Regions from separate parts of the Homo sapiens genome. Here region 2 is linked to region 1. Evidence: promoter capture Hi-C in human tissues and cell types (Jung and others, 2019). All regions are on one chromosome and are shown on one strand. Each heading gives the region's core, a stretch centred on a gene start or on the middle of the fragment in contact. The rest is flanking DNA. Distances are from core to core; before and after follow the strand shown.

The links. Contacts are between HindIII fragments. The study calls those that stand out against the background at their distance.
Region 2: a contact is called between a fragment that was not itself captured here and the fragment with the promoter of OPRK1 in region 1, in 1 of the 25 tissues and cell types used here (H1 embryonic stem cells).

The regions. Positions count from the first base shown.
Region 1 is chr8:53,249,557-53,254,152 of GRCh38, reverse strand. It overlaps OPRK1 (opioid receptor kappa 1), which reads left to right and starts at 2,516. Exons shown (of 4, transcript NM_000912.5): 1 at 2,516-2,705; 2 at 3,068-3,372. The coding sequence starts at 3,116. The HindIII fragment of the contact is 8,793 bases long and covers 1-3,501 here.
Region 2 is chr8:53,860,156-53,865,348 of GRCh38, reverse strand. It overlaps a transcript of RGS20 not described here. Among named protein-coding and RNA genes, the nearest start is that of RGS20, 18 kb to the left of the region's middle. The HindIII fragment of the contact is 5,706 bases long and covers 1-4,729 here.

The sequences.
Region 1 (4,596 bases), core at 1,267-3,766:
TAACTGCAATCCTTAAATATCAGCTTCAATGCCATTTCAAGAAGGGCTTCCCTGATGTTCTCTGACTGAGCAGGGTTCCCAGACACCAGGTCTTCTTCAGGGGATCTGCACACTTGTGTAGACTACACTGCACCTAAGTGTGCAGTATCTCACAGTATGCTTCACACCGAAGACAAGACTGATTTGGGTATTTATTATAACAACTTGCTGACAGATCTAAGTAAAGTGCCTTATGAAAGGGATGCTATTTTTAAATTTCATGCAAATTTGCTGCACTGGCTATCACTGTTTATTAAACACCTTTCCACATAACATTTGCCAGAGTTGGATGAATTTGTTATTAATTATTTATTAATTATTCCTAACATTAAAAAAATTTAGATCCCATGTGTCACACTAGCTTCACATCCTCTTTGAGAAGAGATTGTCTCTGTGTTGGTATTGTTGTATCCCCAGAGGGTGCCTTTTCTTCAGCCACTTGGGGATACTCTGCAATATCTGCTGAGTGAAGTGAGCTGAAGCCAGCTGCATCCCGGCTCAGCAAGACTCCATTGGCTGCACTGGGGTCTTAAGCTAATGAAGTTGCTCCCTCCAGCTCTGCACTCATTGCTGCACAACAATATCTGTTGTTGGAGCCACAAGAAAGGGAGTTAATTGCAATTTACTGGTGGGTTATCTAGTCTATCTAACAAAAATGTCAAAGCCACCCACTACCCAGGATGCTCCTTAGCATTGTAGCATTATCCAATAAAAATCTCCACATTTTCATCTTTAAAAGTGCTTTCCATGTACTTAGTTATAAGCATAGTGTTTGCATTGAGTAGAATGGCCAAGTATAACCACATGTGCTTTATATCAGTGTGTAACAGTATATAGCATTTTAGCAGTTTACTTTTCCTTTCTATTTTATGAGCTTTTATCTGATATTATGATAAAATTGCATACTCCTAAGAGCATGACTCCACAGAAGCAGCCATACTTCCTGGATTTAGAGACTCGAGTGGGTTCCCCTGGCAACCTGAGCCACCTGAGGGCTTCTCAATGCTCTGTTCATTTTGTCTTCCCTTTATTTTGGCCATTAATTTGGTAAACAAGAAAGGTAAGAGTGCTCAAATGAAATAAAACTACTGAGGCCCTTATGAGGTCTCAGCAGGTCTGATGTGTTACTGAAGGAGATGTGATCCTTCAATGACAGTTTGCAATCAGACTTAAAAGAACTCTAAGACTTGATAATAATTTTCAAAATTATTTGAAAGGGTTGAAGGGATATGGTTGAACAAAGGGAAGATTTCCTTATGCTCTTCATATTACACTGCTCAAAAGAGTTGTTCATCTCCAGGCGGCAAGACGCTGGTGGTCAAATCCCACTTTGGGGTCATGGCGTCTTGAAAGAGACAGGAACCCCCTTCTGCCCTCCGCTGATGGAGGGAAGGGCTGTATCAGTCATTAGTGTGTCCAGGTGTGGCATGGACATTAGCTGTGGGATGCAGTGGGGACCTGTGTTTGTCAGCCTGAGGCAGTGAATCCACTGGGGAAATTGAGGTGCCTAAACCCCCAGTCTCCCCCAGGCCTGTCTCCAGTACCCTGTGGAGAAGGGGAACTTCCCCACTCCCTTTCAGAACCTTCACCTCAGGGGCTGAGCCCTTGCTCCCTTTGTGTCTTGCCGGTCCCTTTGCCTGAGAAGAGAATGTCTCTCACTCAGCAGGATCTGACAGCTACCCTTGGACTAGCAGAGTTTTGCAAAGAAATGATGGTGACAGTTTATTTACGGACGCTCAGATTCGCGGCCGTATAATGGAGGCAGCCCTACTGTGAGGGAGAAGTGAGGAGAACGTGATGGCTGCAGGGATTAATGTAAAACAGAGACACTGTCACCTCCCTGGAGCACCACTGAGGCCCGGGTAAGGAGAGTGTTTTGCCCTTCTCAGATACTATCAGCAATTCAGGTAATACCCGTAAGGTGCAGTTTGTCTGCAGCCTGTCATCCCAGTTAGAGCAGACGGAATGGAAGAGAACGCAAGGAAATATTCTATTTATGTGTCTTTTAAGTCATTATTTTATGAACTGGTCTTATTCTAACTGGATCATTTTGTTACTTTCTTTGGATGGGCCATTCTAATAAGCGTAGTTCCTGACTGCGAACTATGCAGATAAGAAGTTCTAGACACAATATGAAAATCCAGGTGCATACTTGCACTAAATAGGCATGCTCCTCCTTTTTACTAAATCTAAATGGCTCAGTCTCAGGTCTTGGGGAAGGCTGCATGGCCGGGGACCAGGCGGTGTGCCGCTCGGGCAGTTAGTGGGCCGGGCGAGCCTGCGGGGCTGGAGGGGACGCGGGGCTGGGAGGCTGGGGAGCTGGGGGCTGACTCCGGGCGGGCGGGGCGGGGCAGGGACCTGCCGGCCTGGGGCGGGCGCACCAGACGAGCTCTCCGCCCGCAGGCCCCCAGCGCCCAGCCGCGTCCCGGCTGCGTCCCGCCGGTCCCGCCCCGCCCCGCCCCGCAGAGCCGCCGCCAGTAGTGGGAGACGTGCGCTGAGAGGCGGGGGCTGCGCTCGGCGGAACAGCAGCCCTCGGGCGGAGAGCGGGGCCGGGGTCCGAGAGCAGGTGATGCCAAGAGCTGAGCGGGACTCGTGAGCGCGCGGTTCAGCACCTACCAGGGCGTCCCGTAAAAAACCTCGCCTTCGCCTGTCTCTGGGAACCATAGGTAAGCTTTGGGCTTTCGAGGTGCAGTTCTAGGTAGAGCTCCGTGCTGGGAGGTGGGAAGGGGGCTTGACCCTGGGGACTCAGGCAGTCTGGGGACAGTTCCACCAGGGGCCGGTGCCTAGAATTGGTGAGGGAGGCACCTCAGGGGCTGGGGGAGAAGGAGCGAGCGCTCTTCGCCCCTCTCTGGCACCCAGCGGCGCGCCTGCTGGCCGGAAAGGCAGCGAGAAGTCCGTTCTCCCTGTCCTGCCCCCGGCGACTTGCGGCCCGGGTGGGAGTCCGCAGGCTCCGGGTCCCCAGCGCCGCTGGCCAGGGCGCGGGCAAAGTTTGCCTCTCCGCGTCCAGCCGGTTCTTTCGCTCCCGCAGCGCCGCAGGTGCCGCCTGTCCTCGCCTTCCTGCTGCAATCGCCCCACCATGGACTCCCCGATCCAGATCTTCCGCGGGGAGCCGGGCCCTACCTGCGCCCCGAGCGCCTGCCTGCCCCCCAACAGCAGCGCCTGGTTTCCCGGCTGGGCCGAGCCCGACAGCAACGGCAGCGCCGGCTCGGAGGACGCGCAGCTGGAGCCCGCGCACATCTCCCCGGCCATCCCGGTCATCATCACGGCGGTCTACTCCGTAGTGTTCGTCGTGGGCTTGGTGGGCAACTCGCTGGTCATGTTCGTGATCATCCGGTGAGCGCGGGGACAGCGCAGCGCTGGGGGCTGGGCGGGGCAGGGAGTGAGGGTCAGGCCCCGCCACTGGAGCAGCAGTGGGGGCAGCCAGCCAGGTGGTGGGGACTCTGTTCCGTGAAGGATCCTGGAAATGCTACAGGGTGGCTTCCTAGAAGAGGTGAAGGATTTTCTGGGAGTTTTTGGTGGAGTGCTGAGAGGTTCACACAGGCGAATCCGAGCGGCCAGGGGCGTCTGGAAGATTTCAGAGTAACCCCCCGACCCCACCCTAGGGCCCAGTGTTTCTGCTGAAAACTCTATGCGCAGGGCAAGGTGCCAGGGTGCTGACAACAGGGTCAGGGGTTCCTGGTAAAGGAACTAATCCATTTGCCTGCGCCAGTTTGGAGCACTTTGTTATGCCCTTTGCAAATATTTCTTAAGATAAATTTCAAGCCCACCCAATGCACTGAAGATAATTCCGAATTTCCTGGGACTCCTCAGACTGGTGTTTTGGCTTATGAAACAAAACCTGATATATGCTCTAGCGTTGTTGATATGCATATATGAGCCTTTTTAGTATCAAATGGCATCCCATTTGTTAGGAATATCAGTAAATAATATTTATCCTCTAAAACATGGCCTGTGGAGATTTTCAAAAACTACTTCGCTGTTTTTTTCACCATGAGAAATTGAAGGTTTTATTTGTGTGTGTGTGTGTGTGTGTGTGTGTGTGTGGAAATTTCTTCAAGTCAACTTCCAATAATAAGTATCCCAATATCCACATATATGCTAATTTTTTGGTAAGCAAAGTGATTCTGACTTTAAGAAAGAAAAACAAGAAAAGGAAAACCTAACTTTGTTCTGCACTTTTCTTAAGATAGATGTGTTTCCTTTTCTGGGAGCACTAGAGCTTTGTCAACACACCTGTGAGAGGGAGTAGGAAGCTTGTGTTCCTTTGAGAAGTCTCTATGAAATAAGGGCGGGATGCAAGTCACCCTGGCTAGGGACTCTGAAACGATGAATAGCTGATTTTTTTTAAGCTTGATTTTAGTTTTGAAACAGGCCATTTATTTATTATGAACTTTAACAACCATATCATGAATGGTAGCATAAATGTTTCTCTTGGAAAATTATCATAATAAAATACTGCTTTATTTTTATTTTTACTTTTTTGCTTGAGAATGTCAGGTCTTTTATTCCTATGTATGCTCTGACATTAAAAACCATCATTTAAGTCGCCAAACACAT
Region 2 (5,193 bases), core at 627-3,126, 610 kb before region 1:
AGAGGCTGCAGCAATTGCATGAGTAGACCCTGAAGGTATGAGGTTTGTTAAAATGGATGTTCAGAGAAGGCCTGACACAAGAGGGCCACTCCATTTGTCCCCACGGACCTGGGCCGGATCTCTCAATTTCACACTGATGGAGCCTGAAAATCAACAAACAAGACGGCAAGAACAGGGAAGACATTGTTCTCTCCAAAGTGGACAATTTGTGACAGGCCCAGGAAGGCTGCCTGGGCTTTATAGCTTTTCCAGTGGTTCCTAATAAACCAGGCTTTGTGTGAGCCTCGTTCAGGCCATGCGGGGCCCTGTCGTTCTAAGGCTTTCTCCCTCCTCTGGCCTGGCTGCTGGGAGAACTTGTTAGCGGGCATTGATTTCTTTGAGTTGGACGCGACTGAATTAGACTGCTTTGCTTGGCATTTTAAAGGGGATGTTTTCTTGGGGAAGTTGGAGGTTGGCACTGCCTTGATATGAAACATTTTAGGGGCCATTCAGAATTCTTAACTGTCATTAATTTCTTTCAGGGCATATGAAACATTTGTCTGAAGAAAGATTTTAACAATTTCAGTTTGAAGACATCAAGAAATACCATATGATCTCTGACCTTAATCAGATGAAATCTTGTTTCATCCACATGGTGGAAAAAAATTAGGGAAATAATGCATTTCTATATCTACTAATCAACTGGCCAATCAATATTAACTGGGCTCTTACTCTGTGCCCACTATGTACGAGGTCCATCTGCAGATGGAGATAACTAGATTAACAACTATTATGGGAGAAACTGGCTACAAACCCAGCCCATAGGATTCCAAGGGGTTCCCGGGAGGCAGCACAGGGCTAATGGAAAGCTGGACTCACCGATGCAGGCTTTTAAAAGAAAAACTCAAAGTATCTGAGTTTTTTTTTTTTTTTTTTTTTCATGGAGTCTTGCTCTATCGCCAGGCTGGAGTGCAATGGCACAATCTCAGCTCACTGCAACCTCCAACTCCTGGGTTCAAGCTATTCTCCTGCCTCAGCCTCCCGAGTAGCTGGGATTACAGGCACCCGCCATCATGCCCAGCTGATTTTTTTTTTGTATTTTTGTAGAGACGGGGTTTCACCATGTTGGCCAGGCTGGTCTTGAACTCCTGATCGACCTCAAGTGATCCACCTGCCTTGGCCTCCCAAAGTGCTGGGATTACAGGTGTGAGCCACCATGATCTGAGTTTTTTAAAAAAGCCCATGTCTTTATAGTTTACCAGCATTTTTACATGCCTTGTCTCATTTGATTTTTTCAAAGCAACCATTCAAATTGAATGTGAAAAGTATTATTGTCTTGATTTTATAGAAGATAAAATGTCATGCCTGTAATCCCACCACTTTGGGAGGCCGAGGAAGGCAGATCACGAGGTCAGGAGATTGAGACCATCCTGGCTAACATGGTGAAACCCTGTCTCTACTAAAAATACATACAAATTAGCTGGGTGTGGTGGCATGAGCCTGTAGTCCCAGGTACTTGGGAGGCTGAGACAGGAGAATTGCTTGAACCGGGGAAGCAGAGGTTGCAGTGAGCCGAGTTGGCGCCATTGCACTCCAGCCTGGGTGGCAAAGTGAGACTCTGCCAAAAAAAAAAAAAAAAAAAGATAAAACAAAGACTCAGAGAATGAAATACAACTTAGACCTGAATTCAAAAACCAATTCTTGGCATTTCAAAGACATTGCCCTTTATGTCATCATCTTGCTTGGTGGCAGGGTGTACCTGTGTCAGCCAAAAGGGTGATATCACTGAGCTTTTCACTTGGTAAAAAAGGACATCTTCAAGTACTCAGACTTCAGTTAGTTACAACTGAGCCTCAAGTCGCACTGGTTCGAAGTGCTGCAGTGCTTGGATTTCCACCAGATGTCACCATTTGCCATTGTTCTACTCCCTGCCTTTAAAAAGCATTAGCAAAGAAGAGCCCATCTGCTCTTGGGCCCCTGAGAATGCTTATTGCATCTGGGAGTGAGGTGGAGGGCTGTATTCCAAGAAGGGAGCAATGAGCTCTGAATCTTGACTCAGGGAGAAGGAATTTGAAAATGTCATGGCCGGGCGCTGTGGCTCGCACCTGTAATCCCAACACTTTGGGAGGCCGAGGCGGGCGGATCACCTGAGGTCCGGAGTTTGAGACCAGCCTGACCAACATGGAGAGACCCCGTCTCTACTAAAAATACAAAATTAGCCGGGCATGGTGGCACATGCCTGTAATCCCAGCTACTCGGGAGGCTGAGGCAGGAGAATCCCTTGAACTGGGAGGCAGAGGTTGCGGTGAGCCGAGATCGTGCCATTGTACTCCAGCCTGAGAAACAAGAGCGAAACTCCATCTCAAAAACAAAAGAAAAGAAAAGAAAAGAAAATGTCATGAGCTCTCTGGTTCCCGATTTCCTAAAACCCAAAGGCATTATTTCCCCCTCCCCTTGTGATTTCGTGTATCTAAAAACCCAGCCCATTTCTGATGGATAAACCAAGCAGAACTATAACCTGGCTTTTGGCCAAAACAACTTAGAAAAGGAGGAGATTTTCTTTTCTTTTTAGAGATAGGGTCTCACTCCATCACTCAGGCTGGAGTGTAGTGGCATGATCATAGCTCACTGCAGTCTCTAACTCCTGGGCTCAAGCAATCCTCATGCCTCAGCCTCCTGAGTAGCTAGGACTTAGGGGCATGTGCCACTCACCCAGCTAATTTTTAAATTTTCTTGTGGAGACTGGATCTCTCTTTGTTGTCCAGGCTGGCCCCAAACTACTGGCCTCCTAAAGTGCTGGCATTACAGGGATGAGCCACCATGCCTAGCCCTCCAGCTAATTTTTTATAAAGCAGGAGGTTTTGAAGTGAAGACAGAACCAAGGAACGCTGCACCTTCTCTGTGATCAGAAGTAGAAGCCAGCAGGATTTGCATCACGCTGGAGTGTGGTTTCTGAGGAGGGGCTGGAAGTAGCCCTGAACCCCAAGTCTCCCACCTGCTCAGATTTTATATGGTCCAAATTACACTACTCAGGTTCATTCTTGTGGATCTAATATGAGTGTTCCCTGTAGATTTCATGAGCAGGAGTGATGTATGAATTCATTTACATCTAAGTGCATTTGAATTTGAACTTTTGTTTCTTTTTTTAAAGGGAGAAACTAGGCCAGAATGAGAGAATGAGGTTCCTAGGGTATGTCTGTGGATGTTGGCGAAGAGTCCAAGGTGAGGGGTGGGTGAGAGAGAGGGGAGGCAAACTTCTCTTAACTTCTAGTTTGGTCCAGGCTAACGACCAGGGGCCTGAGGGACCCTCCTTTGCCTCCTGTTCCTCACACCCTCCTCACCTTCACTCTGCTTATCTTCAGGGTAGCAAAGAATCCATGTGGGGCAATGGTTGGCCCCCCCAAAGCTTGGACTCCCCACGGGCCAACAAATGATGGGAGATGTGTGGCTTCTCCAAAACTGCAGCTCTGGGAAAGGGGAAGCTTAGAGATCTTAATGATGCTAATAAGTTGGTAAAAATAATCAGGTGCAGGTATTTTTAAGACAAGGCAAAAACAGAAAAAAGGAAGCAATAGTACCTGGATTTTATTTGCTGATCATAAGCTTACTTTTTAATCCAGCAAACTTGTTCTTCAACAAAACTGTCTGTAAAATTAATTGCATGTCCTCCTGATACGATGTTGATGGTAATAATACTTTCTCTTCAAATGAAAACTTCAAAAATATATCCTTCAGAACATGATCCTCTGGGCAAATGGTCACAGATGAAAGCCTTAAATACAACTCACAGAAGCAGAGACAGCAGATTTATTACAGAATTCGGAAATGCAGTGTGACATTGGTAGTATCAACTGCTTTGATCATTTCTTTCAAGTAATGTTTTATTCATTTCATTTGGTCATATTTTGCTCAACTATTTTTATGTAACTTCACACAATCTATATATTTTGTTGATAACTTACAGGTAAAAATATTCATTTATTAGTGTGGGTGTTTATCCGATGACCCACACTGGGTCACGCTGACTCAAGAGAGGACAGAGGGTCACACAAGAACTTCACAGCTTGTGTCCCCTAGGGGCTGAGGGTCTGCTGACTCTAGTTTTGTGGGGCTTATCCACAGATACTTTGCAGAATGTCTGGTGGTGGGAATAGGAGATAAACAGAGAAGATGTGTAGAATTATCTCTGAGGCGTGATTACAAAGCTTGTGGGTGATAGATATAAAAATGCCAGGCCTCAAATATCTAAATCAGGGCTGTCTACTTCAGGTGTCATCGTTGATTTTGGAATCCCATAAGTTGGTTTAAAGTTGCAATCACTCAAAATATGTGCTGGACAACCCCTTAAGATTGTCTTACAACCTAAAGAACAGCTAGGGCTGATTGATCTTTTTTTTTTTTTGGAGACAGGGTCTCACTCTGTTGCCCAGGCTAGAGTGCAGTGGTGTGATCTTGGCTCACTGTAGCCTCTGCCTCCTGGGTTCAGGCAATTCTCCTGCCTCAGCCTCCTGAGTAGCTGGGATTACAGGCATGTGCCACCACACCCAGCTAATTTTTGTATTTTTTAGTAGAGATGGGGTTTCACCATGTTGGCCAGGCTGGGCTCGAACTCCTGACGTCAAGTGATCCACCTGTCTTGGCCTCCCAGAGTGCTGGGATTAGAGGTGTGACCCACTGCGCTCAGCAGGGCTGATGGATCTTGAGACAGAGACCACATCTATACTGGGCCAGATCCTCTCTCCTGGGAATTTGGAATGAGAACATGGAGCCACAGCTATTAGAGGCAGTTTGCTGGTGTTAAACTATCTTCCACAGATTCCTGGTCTGAGGTTCCTGGGCTGCTAGCCTCCTGCCTCCTTGCTATTTCCTTTTGTCTTCTAGTCATATGCAATTTGAACAGACAGTTACAAAAACGTGTTGAGACAATGTCTTGCATATTTTAGTTCATTTCCAGTCTTATTTTGAATAAAAGTTCTTAGAATGATCTATCACTTGAATATAAATCCTTACAATTTTTAGTGTTGAGAATTCGAAATCATATAAGCCAAATATAGTCTTATGGGAAAACATATTTGGTTACATAGTTGATGTCAAATCAAATTACTTTTGTAGTCTGTGATTTGGGTTTCTTTCTTGAATATTTGAATATATTCCAGTTGTCACTATATGGTTTAAACTATTATCCTTTCAACATATTTGCTTCATCTTAAAATT